Linked DNA regions of Homo sapiens: regions 2 and 3 are each linked to region 1. Evidence: promoter capture Hi-C in human tissues and cell types (Jung and others, 2019). All regions are on one chromosome and are shown on one strand. The core of a region is centred on a gene start or on the middle of the fragment in contact, and the rest is flanking DNA. Distances in the headings are between cores, read along the strand shown. Region 1 holds the start of AP2S1 (adaptor related protein complex 2 subunit sigma 1). Region 2 holds the start of SYMPK (symplekin scaffold protein). Region 3 holds the start of NAPA (NSF attachment protein alpha).

Region 1 (3,810 bases), core at 933-3,432:
TATCAACCCTGTTGGAGACAGAAAAGTACACAAGACAGAAATGATCTCTGGCCTCTTTTTGCCCCTATAATATTCAACAACTATGTGTTGGTTATTCTGCCAGTACTATACCTTAAATTTACATAATTCTACAATACATTTTGTTTTATTTATTTAATTTATTATTATTATTTCTTTGAAATGGAGTCTCTCTCTCTCTCTGTCCCCCAGGCTGGAGTGCAGTGGCACGATCTCGGCTCACTGCAACCTCCATCTCCAGGGTTCAAGTGCTTCTCCTGCCTCAGCCTCCCAAGTAGCTGGTATTACAGGCAAGTGCTACCAAGCCCGGCCAATTTTTGTATTTTTATTAGAGGTGCTGTTTCGCCACGTTGGGCAGGCTGGTCTCGAACTCCTGACCTCAGGTGATCTGCCTGCCTTGGCATTCCAAAGTGCTGAGATTACTGGAGTGAGCCACCATGCCTGGCATGCTTTGTTCTTATTAGGGCCAATCTCCCCTCAGTACTAATAGTAATAACTTTATTGACTGCTTACCATCTGTCATGTTCTAGGTAATGAAGATACAGTTATCAGACAGGGTCCCTGCCCTCAACAACTCACTACCTAATGAGAGATCTAGACAAACATACACACATACTCATAGGGCAAATAAAATAATTTTTAAAATGTAATAAAGGCCATTTAAAAAATCACGCCTGTAATCTCAATACTTTGGGAGGTGGAGGAGGGAGGATCGCTTGAGCTCAGGAGTTCAAGAGCAGCCTAGGCAACATAGCAAGACCCTGTCTCTACAAAAAGTACAAAAAATTAGCCAGGTGTGACGGCATGTGTATGTAGTCTCAGCTACTCGGGAGGCTGAAGTGGGAGGATCACTTGAGCCCAGCAGGTTGAGGCTTCAGTGAGCTGAGATCATGCCACTGCGCTACAGCCTGGGTGACCAAGGGAGACCCTCTTTCAGAAAAAAGCAAAAACAAAGACACACCAAAAAAACACTAAACTAACTGCTGACCTGGAGGGTTTTTTTTTTTTTTGACAGAGTTTCGCTCTTGTCATTCCAGCTAGGGTGCAATGGTGTGATCTCGGCTCACTGCAACCTCTGCCTCCCAGGTTCAAGCAATTCTCCTGCCTCAGCTTCCCGAGTTGCTGGGATTACAGGCACCTGCCATCACACCCAGCTAATTTTTATATTTTTAGTAGAAATGGTTTCACCGTGTTGGCCATGCTGGTCTCGAAGTCCTGACCTTAGGTGATCCACCCACCTCAGCTTCTCAAAGTGCTGGGATTACAAGCATGGGCCATCATGCCCCCGCCAAACTAGAGATTTTTTTTTTTTTTTGGAGTCTCTCTCTATTGCCCAGGCTGGAGTGCAGTGGCGAGATCTGGGCTCACTGCAACCTCTGCCTCCGGGCTTCAAGTGATTCTCCTGCCTCAGCCTCCCGAGTAGCTGGGACTACAGGTGCGCACCACCATGCCTGGCTAATTTTTTGTATTTTTAGTAGAGATGGGGTTTCGCCATGCTGGCTAGGCTGGTCTCGAACTCCTAACCAAGTGATCTGCCTGCCTCGGACTCCCAAAGTGCTGGGATTACAGGAGTAAGCCACCGCGCCGGGCCGGTTCAAATTTATGCTTTTAAACTGTTGTCTCCCGAGAGACACACGCAACGTATTTTAAGCAAAACACTGGCTTGGTGTTGTGGTGGCTCATGCCTGTAATCCTGGTGATTTGGAAGGCTGAGGGTCGCTTGAAGCTGAGTTCGAGATCAACCTAGGCAATATATCTAGACCCCTGTCTCTATTTTTAAAAAAATTAAAGAAATCACTGGATGAGGAATGGAAAGACATTTTCTATCTCCCCAGGACAGTTTTTTAAAATTTAAAACTACTATTCCCAGCATGCCCTTCTCCCCTGGGTGGGGGGAGGGGACCTAAGAGAACTACATTTCCCTGAATGCAACGCCTTCACCGCTGGTTCTTCAGCATCTCGGGAATTGTAGTCCTCTGTAAAGATGTTTGTCCACAAATCCCAGCATGCACTTGGGATCTGACTCGTTTGGTAGGAAAAGGACTGGCTCTGACTCTTCACCCATCTTCACCCAGGCTGGCCCCTTTGGTGAAACTACAACTCCCAGGGGTCTGTGCGCGAGAAGGCAGGCGGGTTTTTCTACCGGAAGTCCGCTCTAGCTCTGGGCCCTACAACTGCACCCTGAGCCGGAGCTGCCCAGTCGCCGCGGGACCGGGGCCGCTGGGGTCTGGACGGGGGTCGCCATGGTAACGGGGGAGCGCTACGCCGGGGACTGGCGGAGGGGGGGCCCACGCGTAAATAGCCGAGGCTGGATCGGGCGCTGACAAGTCCCTTCTCTGCCGCGGATGGTCTGGGTCAGGCGCGGGCTCTGGGGATTGGGACCGATCCAGGGCCGGGAAGGAGGGCACAGGGCGGTGATTCTGCGCGCGGGGGTTACCAGGGGTCTCGCGGCGACGGGCATTGGGGGTGGTGTTCCAAGGGGAAAGGGCTGTGCAGGTGGGAAACGTTGTAGATGGTTGGAAGCTTTGAAACGAGAGGAAACTCGTGAGACACAGTCTTGTGGGTAGCGAGAAGGCATTGGAGGTGGGGAGAGGGCGTCCGAAAGAGGAAGGCGCTCTGGAAGTGTGGCGGGAGCGCTGGGACGAGAACGCGAGACCTTGGAAAAGGGGAGGGAGGTTTTCTTGATGGGAGGAGTCTCTAGAGACAAGGATCTGATTGCAGGTGGAGAGGGGATGTTGAGACAGGGGCAGGAGACTGCCTGTGAGAGAGGGATGATCTCAAGAAGAGACCTGGCACAGGAAACCAAAAGGAGGCAACTGTAGGGAATGAAACTTAAGGGTCTGGGAAAGCGCTGTAAAAGGAGAGAGGACCTGGAGGTAAGATGGACACTCGGAAAGAATGGGGAGCAACTGAATAGGTCTTTCCAAGAGGAGAGATCTTGTGGGGTGGGGAGTAGGCTTGAAAGTGTGAGACCTGGGGAGGAATCTTTGTTGGGGCAAAGACTCAACATTGGATTTAGGAGTGCCCCTATCCCCCAGGTTGGGGCTTTGGATCTAGGAAAGGGTTCTTTGGGCTGGAAGTTGGGAAAGAAAACGAATGAGAAAGAGTGTCAGAGCGGGGGCGGAGTCTCCTCCAGGAACAGGGTCCTTGGAGGCAAAATGTGACCTTTTGAAGAAGGGAGGAAGCTTGGGAGTGGGACAAGGGATGTCACCAGTAAAAAGCCCATTGAGGCCCCAAGGAGGGGAACTGAGACTGAGAAAGTGGAGGTCAAAAGGGAACAACTCCAGAGGAGGGGGATTGGAGACAGGGAAGGTTGGGGGGCATCTAGAGGGGACAGCAGAGGCGTGAGGATGCAGAGATTCAGGACGGAGGGGACTTGAGATTCCAAATGGGAAGAAAACAGGGAGAGGTATACAAGGGAATTTGGGAGTAAGAGGCAGAGCTTTTTGTCAACTCTGTGGGTTTGCTTCTAGTTCTCCTAACTGTGTGAATATGTCTCCGGCTCTGCTCCCAGGCTGTGGCTGCCTGGTGTAGGCCCCCCAACGTCCCTTCCTGCCTGGGACCCCTGCCCTGCTAGGAAGTGGTTTTCCCTGGCTCAGCAGGAGTTCTTGGAAGGAGAGTGTAACATCCTGTTCCGGTCCAGTTTGGTTGGTTGGGGGAGGGAGGATAGAGTGTGTGGAGAATGAGGCTTAGGAAAGACTCTCAGGCTGGGGCGGTGACTCATGCCTGTAATCCCAGCACTTTGGGAGGCTGAGGCAGGCGGATCACATAAGGTCAGGAGTTCGAGACCAG
Region 2 (3,810 bases), core at 349-2,848, 990 kb after region 1:
TTAAGCCCTGGCCGCGGCGAGGCTGCCCAAACAGCGCTCCCATCCATGCCTCGTCCCCGGTCCCCGACTTCCACACCTGGTCTCCGTGTTCCCAGTTCCTCAGCTGCCCAAGTAGACGCCTTTGCCTCCATTTGAACCCACAACCAGTCCCTGCTCCATGTGAGCCCACACCCCGATACCTGCCCCCAACTTCCCGCTCCGCCATCCCCGAGGACACACCTCGCCCGCCTCCGGGTAGTAGCTCCACTCGGCCAGGTCATGGGCCTCCATCTTCACTGAGCCCAGCATCCCCCGGGCTTACGCCCCCACCCGCCCCCGCTCCGGCCCCGGGGGAACGGAGCGCTCTGGATCTCTCAGCGGGCACGGCCCGAGCTCCCACCGGCGCCCGCCCGTCCGACCGCCCGGGGTACGGCTGTCCCGAGCGCCGCGGGAGGCGGCCACGCTTTATAGCCGGGACACCCCCGCCCTCGCCCGCCCCGGGCTCCCCTCCCGCCTCCCCGAGGGCGGCGCGCTCGGACTGGGGCGCCCCCTGCGGGATCGCCAGGAGACAGACCTCAGGCGCCGGGGGCCGCAGCCCCAGGACGCGACAGCTGGGGGTGATTCAGGAGTGAGGGAGCTGCCCGCAGCGACGCTGCAGATACCAAGGGCCCCGAGGTCAGAACTCTGGAGCCTTTCTACCTCAGGGGGCTTCATCATCTCGGCAGGAGAGGACGAAGAGCCAGAGCCCTGCATGACCGTGGCGGAAGAAAGGGGAATCAGAACGCTAGGGCCACTATGCGACTACAAGGACCCGTAAAAGGTCCCCGAAATCACATCCCCATTGGACAGACAGGAAGACTGAGGCTTCCGACGGCTAGAAATGCTTAACTTGGCCGGGCGCGGTGGCTCACGCCTGTAATTCCAGCACTGCAGGAGGCCGAGGCGGGCGGACGAATCACTTGAGGTCAGGAGTTTGAGACCAGCCTGGCCAACAGGGTGAAACCCCATCTCTATTAAAAATACAACAACTAGCTAGGCGTGATGGTGCGTGCCTGTTATCCCAGCTATTCGGGAGGCTGAGGCAGGAGAATCGTTTGAACCTAGGAAGCGGAGGTTGCAGTGAGCCGAGATCGCGCCACTGCAGTCCAGCCTGGGAGAGAGAGCGGGACTCCGTTTCCAAAAAAAAAGAAAGAAAGAAAAGAAAAGAAAAAGAAATGCTTCAGACTGTTGAAAGGGTCAAGAACAAAGATGGAGGGGATCGGGGCCTCTCCGCAGACCCCACTAGGGCAACAGACCACCTCCCCTCCAAGACCCAGGAGCTTCGCTGCCCGAACTCCGCACTCTCCAAGACCAGCCAGCCGTCCAGGGACTCAGCACCACTGAGAACTCCATTTCCCAGAATGCTCTAGCTCCCTTTCCGCCCGGTGCCTCCGAAGGGACTACATTTCCCAGAAGGCCTAGCCGGACCCAGAGCCGGAAATGAAGGGTCTGCTCGCCGTAGTATGGAGGCGGGCAGAATGCCGCTCGCACGGGACGAGGCATGGGCGGGGTCGGGCTGTGCTCTGGACTCCATTTCCCGGCGGCCCTGGGTGTGTGGCGCGTGCGCACCGTTCCCGGCGACGAACGGAAGATGGCGGCGGCGGCGGCGGCGGAGTGTAGGAAGAGGCACTGCTGAGGGGGCGCGAGGGGAACGGAGGCCAGAGCTGCGGTGAGCGGGAGGCGGCGTTTGGGCCCGGAGACGAAAGGAGGAGGCTCCTAAAGAAGCAGGGGCTCGGGCGGGGAGGGCATCGCCGTGGGGAGAGGGGAACAGTGGCTTTCGCGACCCATGTTTCTTCCCTTGCTCAGGACCCTTCCTTGGCTCCCTAGTGCCCTCGAGGCAAAGTTCCAACGTGGCCCCCCGGGCGCCACCGCCCCGCAGACCTCGCTTGCTTCGACTCGGCCTCTTTGCTTTTTCCCCCACCTCTAACAGCCGCCCTGGCCTTTCGGTTCCTTAAACTTGCCATGCGCTTTCCCGCTTCGGGGATTTTGCACAGGCTGTCCCTTCTGCCTGCAACATCCTTTTACCCATTCGGCTTGGCTAACTCCCATTTCATCCTTCGGGTCTCGGCACCAACGTCACTTCCTCTGCGAAGCCCTCCTTCCCTGCCCTCCATCCAGAAATCCGCCTGTTAAATGCTTTTGTCGGTCCGTGTTCCTTCATGTCACGTGTGGTCTAATTTGTTATCCGACTCTTATCTGTGTGCTGTTTTATGATGTCTATGACCGTGTGTTCCATGAAGGTAGGGACTAGGTTTGTCTCTGTCGCCACTGTGTTCTCAGCACAGCGCCAATCACGCCGGAGACGCCCAGCTAATGTTCGTTGAAGGAATAAAAGATACTCCTAGAGCCAGTTTGGGGAAACAGGGTAGTCATCAGATTCCTAGGTAGCAGTGGGGCAGGGTACCACTTCTTAACGAGTACATCGAGAGGGAAGGGGAAACAGTGATACTGTTCATCATAGCAAAAGGCTACACGCATCCCAAATGTTCTTAAATAAGAAGATTGGCTGAAAGAAACTATAATACATCCACATAAAAAATACTATGCAACTCTAAAAAGGAATGAGGTAGATAAAAGGAAATGATGAAAATCTCTATACACTGATATAGTGGCCTCCAACATATATTAAGGGAAAACAAGTGAAGTGGAGGTTGGTGTTTATTGTATATGCTTTTTCTTTTTTTTTTTTTTTGAGACAGGGTCTCACTCTGTCGCCCAGGCTGGCACGATCCCAGTTCACTGCAACCTCCACCTCCCTGGTTCAAGTGATTCTCCCACCCCAGCCTCTCGAGTAGCTGGGATTACAAACGTGCCCCACCACACCCAGGTAATTTTTATATTTTTAGTAGAGACGGGGTTTCTCTGTGTTGGCCAGGCTGGTCTTGAACTCCTGACCTCAAGTGATCTGCCCACCTCAGCCTTCCAAAGTGCAGGGATTACAGGCCTGAGCCACCAAACTCGGCCTGTGTAGGCTCCTTTTTTTTTTTTTTGAGACAGAGTCTCACTCTGTCACCCAGGCTGGAGTGCAGTGGCGTGATCTCGGCTCACTGCAACCTCTGCCTTCCAGGTTCAAGCAATTCGCCTGCCTCAGCCTCCCAGGTAGCTGGGATTACAGGCACACCACCACGCCTGGCTAATTTTTGTATTTTTAGTAGAGATGGGGTTTCACCATGTTGGTCAGGCTGGTCTTGAACTCCTGACCTCGTGATCCACCTGCCTCCGCCTCCCGAAGTGCTGGGATTACAGGCGTGAGTCACCGCTCCCGGCCCTGTGTATGCTCTTTTTGTAAATGAAAGGGAAATATGTATATATGGGTTTTTTTATTTTCATTTTTTTTCCTTTTTTTGCATAAAATCTAGCTCCTGCAGGAGAATTTTGTGTATGTGTGTTTAAAAAAGAACAAAACAAAACTGAAAGCATAAACCAAAAAGCAGAAGAAGAATGAAACAGGGTAAAATATTTTGGTTGATCTGAATGTATTATCATGAAAAAAGTGGAAATGTTTATTATGGGGTTTTATTTTATTTTATTTTATTTTTTGAGGCAGAGTCTCATTCTGTCGCCCAGGCTGGAGTGCAGTGGTGTTGGGATTACAGGTGTGAGCCACCATGCCCGGCCTGTTTTTTTTATGTTTTGACTGGGGACGGCATGCCATGCCGGTTGTCTGGTGGCCAGGATCCTTGGCTTACGTAAACAGACCTGGGGGTAAAAAACAATTCCTTTCAGATAAACAGTACTGTAGCATAGTGGTAAGGAAGATATGCAGCCATGCTGCTGACTCTGCCTCTTACA
Region 3 (3,810 bases), core at 691-3,190, 660 kb before region 1:
TCAGTAGCGACGGGGTTTCCCCATGTTGGACAGGCTGGTCTCAAACTCCTGGCCTCAAGTGATCCTCCTGCCTTGGCCTCCCAAAGTACCAGGACTACAGATGTGACACACTGCACCCACCAACAGTGTTGAGGAGTACTGGGCAAGTATTTTGGAGGATGTGGCTCAACTGGAATTTGTCTAGTGTTTTTTTCATGATTAGATTGAAAGATCCCAGAAGTAAAGAGCCATTTTAATCACATGACTTATCAATGTTGAGGTTAACCTCAATCACCTAGATGTCAATGTCAGGTTTCTCCACTGTAAATTTAGGCTTTTTCTCCCCTTTCTTGTACCCTCTTCTTTGAAAGGAAGTCACTATGCACAGTCCATACTTACAGAATGGGGAGGTATCCTTCACCTTCTTGAGAGCAGAGTATCTACGCAGATTATTTGGAATTCTTCTGCACAAACTATTTGTCTATTCTCCCCCCTTTATTTATTTGTTCTATATTCATCTATATGACCATAGGCTCATGGATACTTTATGTTTGGGATTATAATCCAATACTACTTTATTTTGATGCTCAAATTGTTCCAGCTTTGGCCATTGGGAGTTCTTTCAGTTGGCTCCTTTGGCATACCCCCTAATTTTGTGTGTGAGCACACGTGTGGAATACTTCCTTCCTTTCTGGCACTACAAAGTTATACTGAGGTGAGCTATGATTGTGCTGCTGCACTCCAGCCTGGGCGACAGACCGAGACCCTGTCTCCAAAACCAACAACCCAAAGAGTGAGACCCTGTCTCAGAAACCAGCAACTCAATTTTCTGGGACAGCAGGAGGTGTGTTTGAGCCTAAACTTTTTTTTTTAGAGACAGAGTCTTGCTATGTTGCCCAAGGCGGGACTTGAACTAGACTCAAACTCCTGGGCCCAAGCGATCCTCTCGCCTCCCGAGTAGCTGGGATTATAGGCACGAGACACCGCGCCCATCTTCGAATCTGAATTTTTTTTTAACACGCTCTCTTCAGCTATTTTTTTTTTTTTTCTGAGACTAAGTCTCACTCTGTCGCCCAGGCTGGAGTGCAGTGGCACGATCTCGGCCCGTTGCAACCTCCACCTCCCCGGTTCAAGCGATTCTCCTCTCTCAGCCTCCTCAGTAGCTGGGATTACAGGAGTGTGCCACCACACCCGGTTAATATTTGTATTTTAGTAGAGCGGGGTTTCGCCATGTTGGCCGGGCTGGTCTCAAACTCATGACCTCAAGTGATCCGCCCGCCTCGGCCTCCCAAAGTGCTGGGATTACAGGCGTAAGCCACCGTGCCCGGCCCTCTTCAGCTATTTTTTATGAAACCAGAGTTAGAGAACCTCTTAAGTTTTTGTTTGCAGTCTCTCTTCACCGGTCTCCCCAAAGCAGTTCTAGTACTGGCCGACAGAGGGAGCAAGAAAAAGCAGAACGGTTTCCTTTTCCCACAAACGCCTTTCCAAGTGAAGAAACCGGCGAGACCAGCCGCGGGGGCGGGACTAAGTTCTGCGCAGAACTGTCAAACCCGGGCGTGGGCCCCGAGCTGTCACGTGAGTGTCTGCGGTCAGCTGACTGTGCCAGAGTTCCGCGGGGAGGGCGAGTGGGGGACCCCCCGCCCCAGCGCGAGCCGAGGGCTCCTGCTGATTGGTGGAGGAGGATCCAGCAGCAACACCGTGGGGCGGGGCCTCGGCGGGGGGTACTGCCATTGCCTTCCACAGGGTCACGTGGGAGGTGAGGTACAGAGCGCTGGGGAGAGAGTGGAGCGCCGTTCGCCGGTATGTGCGCATGCGTTGAGGTCTCTTGACGCCGATTGGGGGGTCACGAGTCACGGGCGGCGTGCGGCGGCTGGTGGGGGCGTGTCCGGCGGAGCGGGCGCGGCGTTACGAGGCCGCTGGTTGGCCAGCGCTAGTCACGTGGTTCCTGGCCGCAAGCGACGCGCGCCGGTGCGACGTCAACGCAGCCGGGCGAGTTTTACCGATCTGTGTTCCGCGGCCCGGCCGCGGCTGAGTCTTCCCAGGGTCAGGGTCAGGCGCTTTGCTGAGTCCCTTTGTGGCCGCCATGGACAATTCCGGGAAGGAAGCGGAGGCGATGGCGCTGTTGGCCGAGGCGGAGCGCAAAGTGAAGAACTCGCAGTCCTTCTTCTCTGGCCTCTTTGGGTGAGAACCGGGCTGAGGGGTCGGCCGGGACCTAGGCTGAGAGGACGAAGGAGTCACGCTCGGAGGTGGCGGGTTAGGGCACGCAGAGCTCGGGCCGAGGGGACGGAGAGGAACCTGCAATAAGGTGACATGGCCTGAGGCGGCAGAGGGGACGCAGGCTGAGGGCCAAGAGCCTGGGCCGGGGCAACACGGTTTGAGGAGAGACGGTCTGACATGGCGGAAGGGATTTGGGCTGAGGACACACGGACCGAGGCGACACTATCTTGAGGCGAGGAAGGGGACCCAGGCCGAAGACAGGCCAGCGGGCGGGGGAGAACCTGGACCGAGGGAGTACGTCCTGAAGCCTTGGAGGGGACCGGCCTGGGGGGACGGAGGGAGTCCGGGAGAGAAGCCAGGTCCAGAGGCTTTTCGGAGCTCTAGGGGAGTCTGTTTGAAGGCTCTCAGGCGGCAGTGATGGGGCCTGGGGCTGAGGACGCCTGCCCGAGGGACTGACCTTTTCAACCCCTGGAGCAGTGGATTTGCGTGGGCCCTGGGCGGTGAGGGTGAAGGCTGAAGGGGGCTGACACCAGGCAGAGGGGCTCAGGGCTAGATGATCCTAGGAGCGGTGAGCCGCGTCTGAAGTGTGGGGGGTGCATGGGGTGAGTACGGCCCTGGTTAGCAGTGACTAGTTTAAGGACAGCTGAACGGAGGAACCCGGGATGATGGAGTCAAGACTGTGGAGGTCTCAGCACTTTGGGAGGCCGAGGTGGGCAGATTATCTGAGGCGGGGAGTTCGAGACCAGCCTGGACAACATGGTGAAACCCCGTCTCTACTAAAAATACAAAAGTTATCTGGGCCTGGTGGCGGGTACCTGTAATCCCAGCTACTCGGGAGGCTGGGGCAGGAGAATCACTTGAACCCGGAGGTAGAGGTTGCAGTGAGCCGAGATCGAGCCACTGCACTACAGCCTGGGGGACAGAGCGAGACTCTGTCTCAAAAAAAAAAAAAAAAAAAAAGAAAGAAAGAAAGAAAAAAGCCTGAGGAGGCCTGGGTTGAGGCTGGAGACTCCTGGGTGGGGGAATGCGTGGTGGTGGCTTGGCCAAGGAGATGGAGGGATAACAGGGAGAGACAGGGGGACTGAGAGAACCAAAACGGGGGATCAAATTCCTGCTGTGTGATCCTCGAGTAATAGGGATGACAGAGACATGCTGAGAAGAGGGATGGGAAAAGGCCTGGGAGACAGAACTAACACATATGACGTGGCATAAAACTCACGTTAGCTCCTAAAAGCTGACACGACCATCCTGTGATAAATTGTAGTGGCTTAGAAGTGCCAAGAGCCCAAGTAGCTCTGCCACTTACTTCATGACTTTGGGTAAATTGTTTAGTCTCCCTGCTAAAGGAGATCACAAATCAAACCTACCTCCCATTTGCTATGAGTGTTAGAATTGAGCCTGGCGTGGAGTTACATCTCTGAGAGTGTTAGCTGTTGTTAATGTGACTTCCAGAAGGAAACAGGTTCGGAGCGTGCAGAGAGCTGATGGGGGTTCAAGGTGGACGCCCGAGCGGAGAGGTCTGGGAGGGGTCAGGAGAGGGAGAGACTGAGAAACATGAGTGTGCTAAGAGGAGCTGAAAGGGAACAGAAAAGGGATCCACGAAGACTTAGTAGG

Evidence for each region. The method cuts DNA at HindIII sites, captures the fragments that hold promoters and counts their contacts. A contact is called where the count stands out against the background at its distance.
Region 2: a contact is called between the fragment with the promoter of SYMPK here and the fragment with the promoter of AP2S1 in region 1, in 1 of the 25 tissues and cell types used here (dorsolateral prefrontal cortex).
Region 3: the fragment with the promoter of NAPA here is called in contact with the fragment with the promoter of AP2S1 in region 1 in 1 of the 25 tissues and cell types used here (dorsolateral prefrontal cortex).

The regions. Positions count from the first base shown.
Region 1 is chr19:46,849,218-46,853,027 of GRCh38, reverse strand. AP2S1 (adaptor related protein complex 2 subunit sigma 1) reads left to right here and starts at 2,182. Exons shown (of 5, transcript NM_004069.6): 1 at 2,182-2,264. The coding sequence starts at 2,262. RefSeq lists an enhancer at 1,858-2,167. The HindIII fragment of the contact is 18,087 bases long and covers 1-2,872 here.
Region 2 is chr19:45,860,935-45,864,744 of GRCh38, reverse strand. It overlaps SYMPK (symplekin scaffold protein), which reads left to right and starts at 1,598. Exons shown (of 27, transcript NM_004819.3): 1 at 1,598-1,687. It overlaps FOXA3 (forkhead box A3), which reads right to left and starts at 419. Exons shown (of 2, transcript NM_004497.3): 1 at 220-419. The coding sequence starts at 288. RefSeq lists a silencer at 224-633 and enhancers at 1,274-1,683, 1,935-2,573. The HindIII fragment of the contact is 22,327 bases long and covers 1-3,810 here.
Region 3 is chr19:47,513,193-47,517,002 of GRCh38, reverse strand. NAPA (NSF attachment protein alpha) reads left to right here and starts at 1,940. Exons shown (of 11, transcript NM_003827.4): 1 at 1,940-2,160. The coding sequence starts at 2,063. RefSeq lists an enhancer at 1,292-1,561 and a silencer at 1,652-1,991. The HindIII fragment of the contact is 27,973 bases long and covers 1-3,810 here.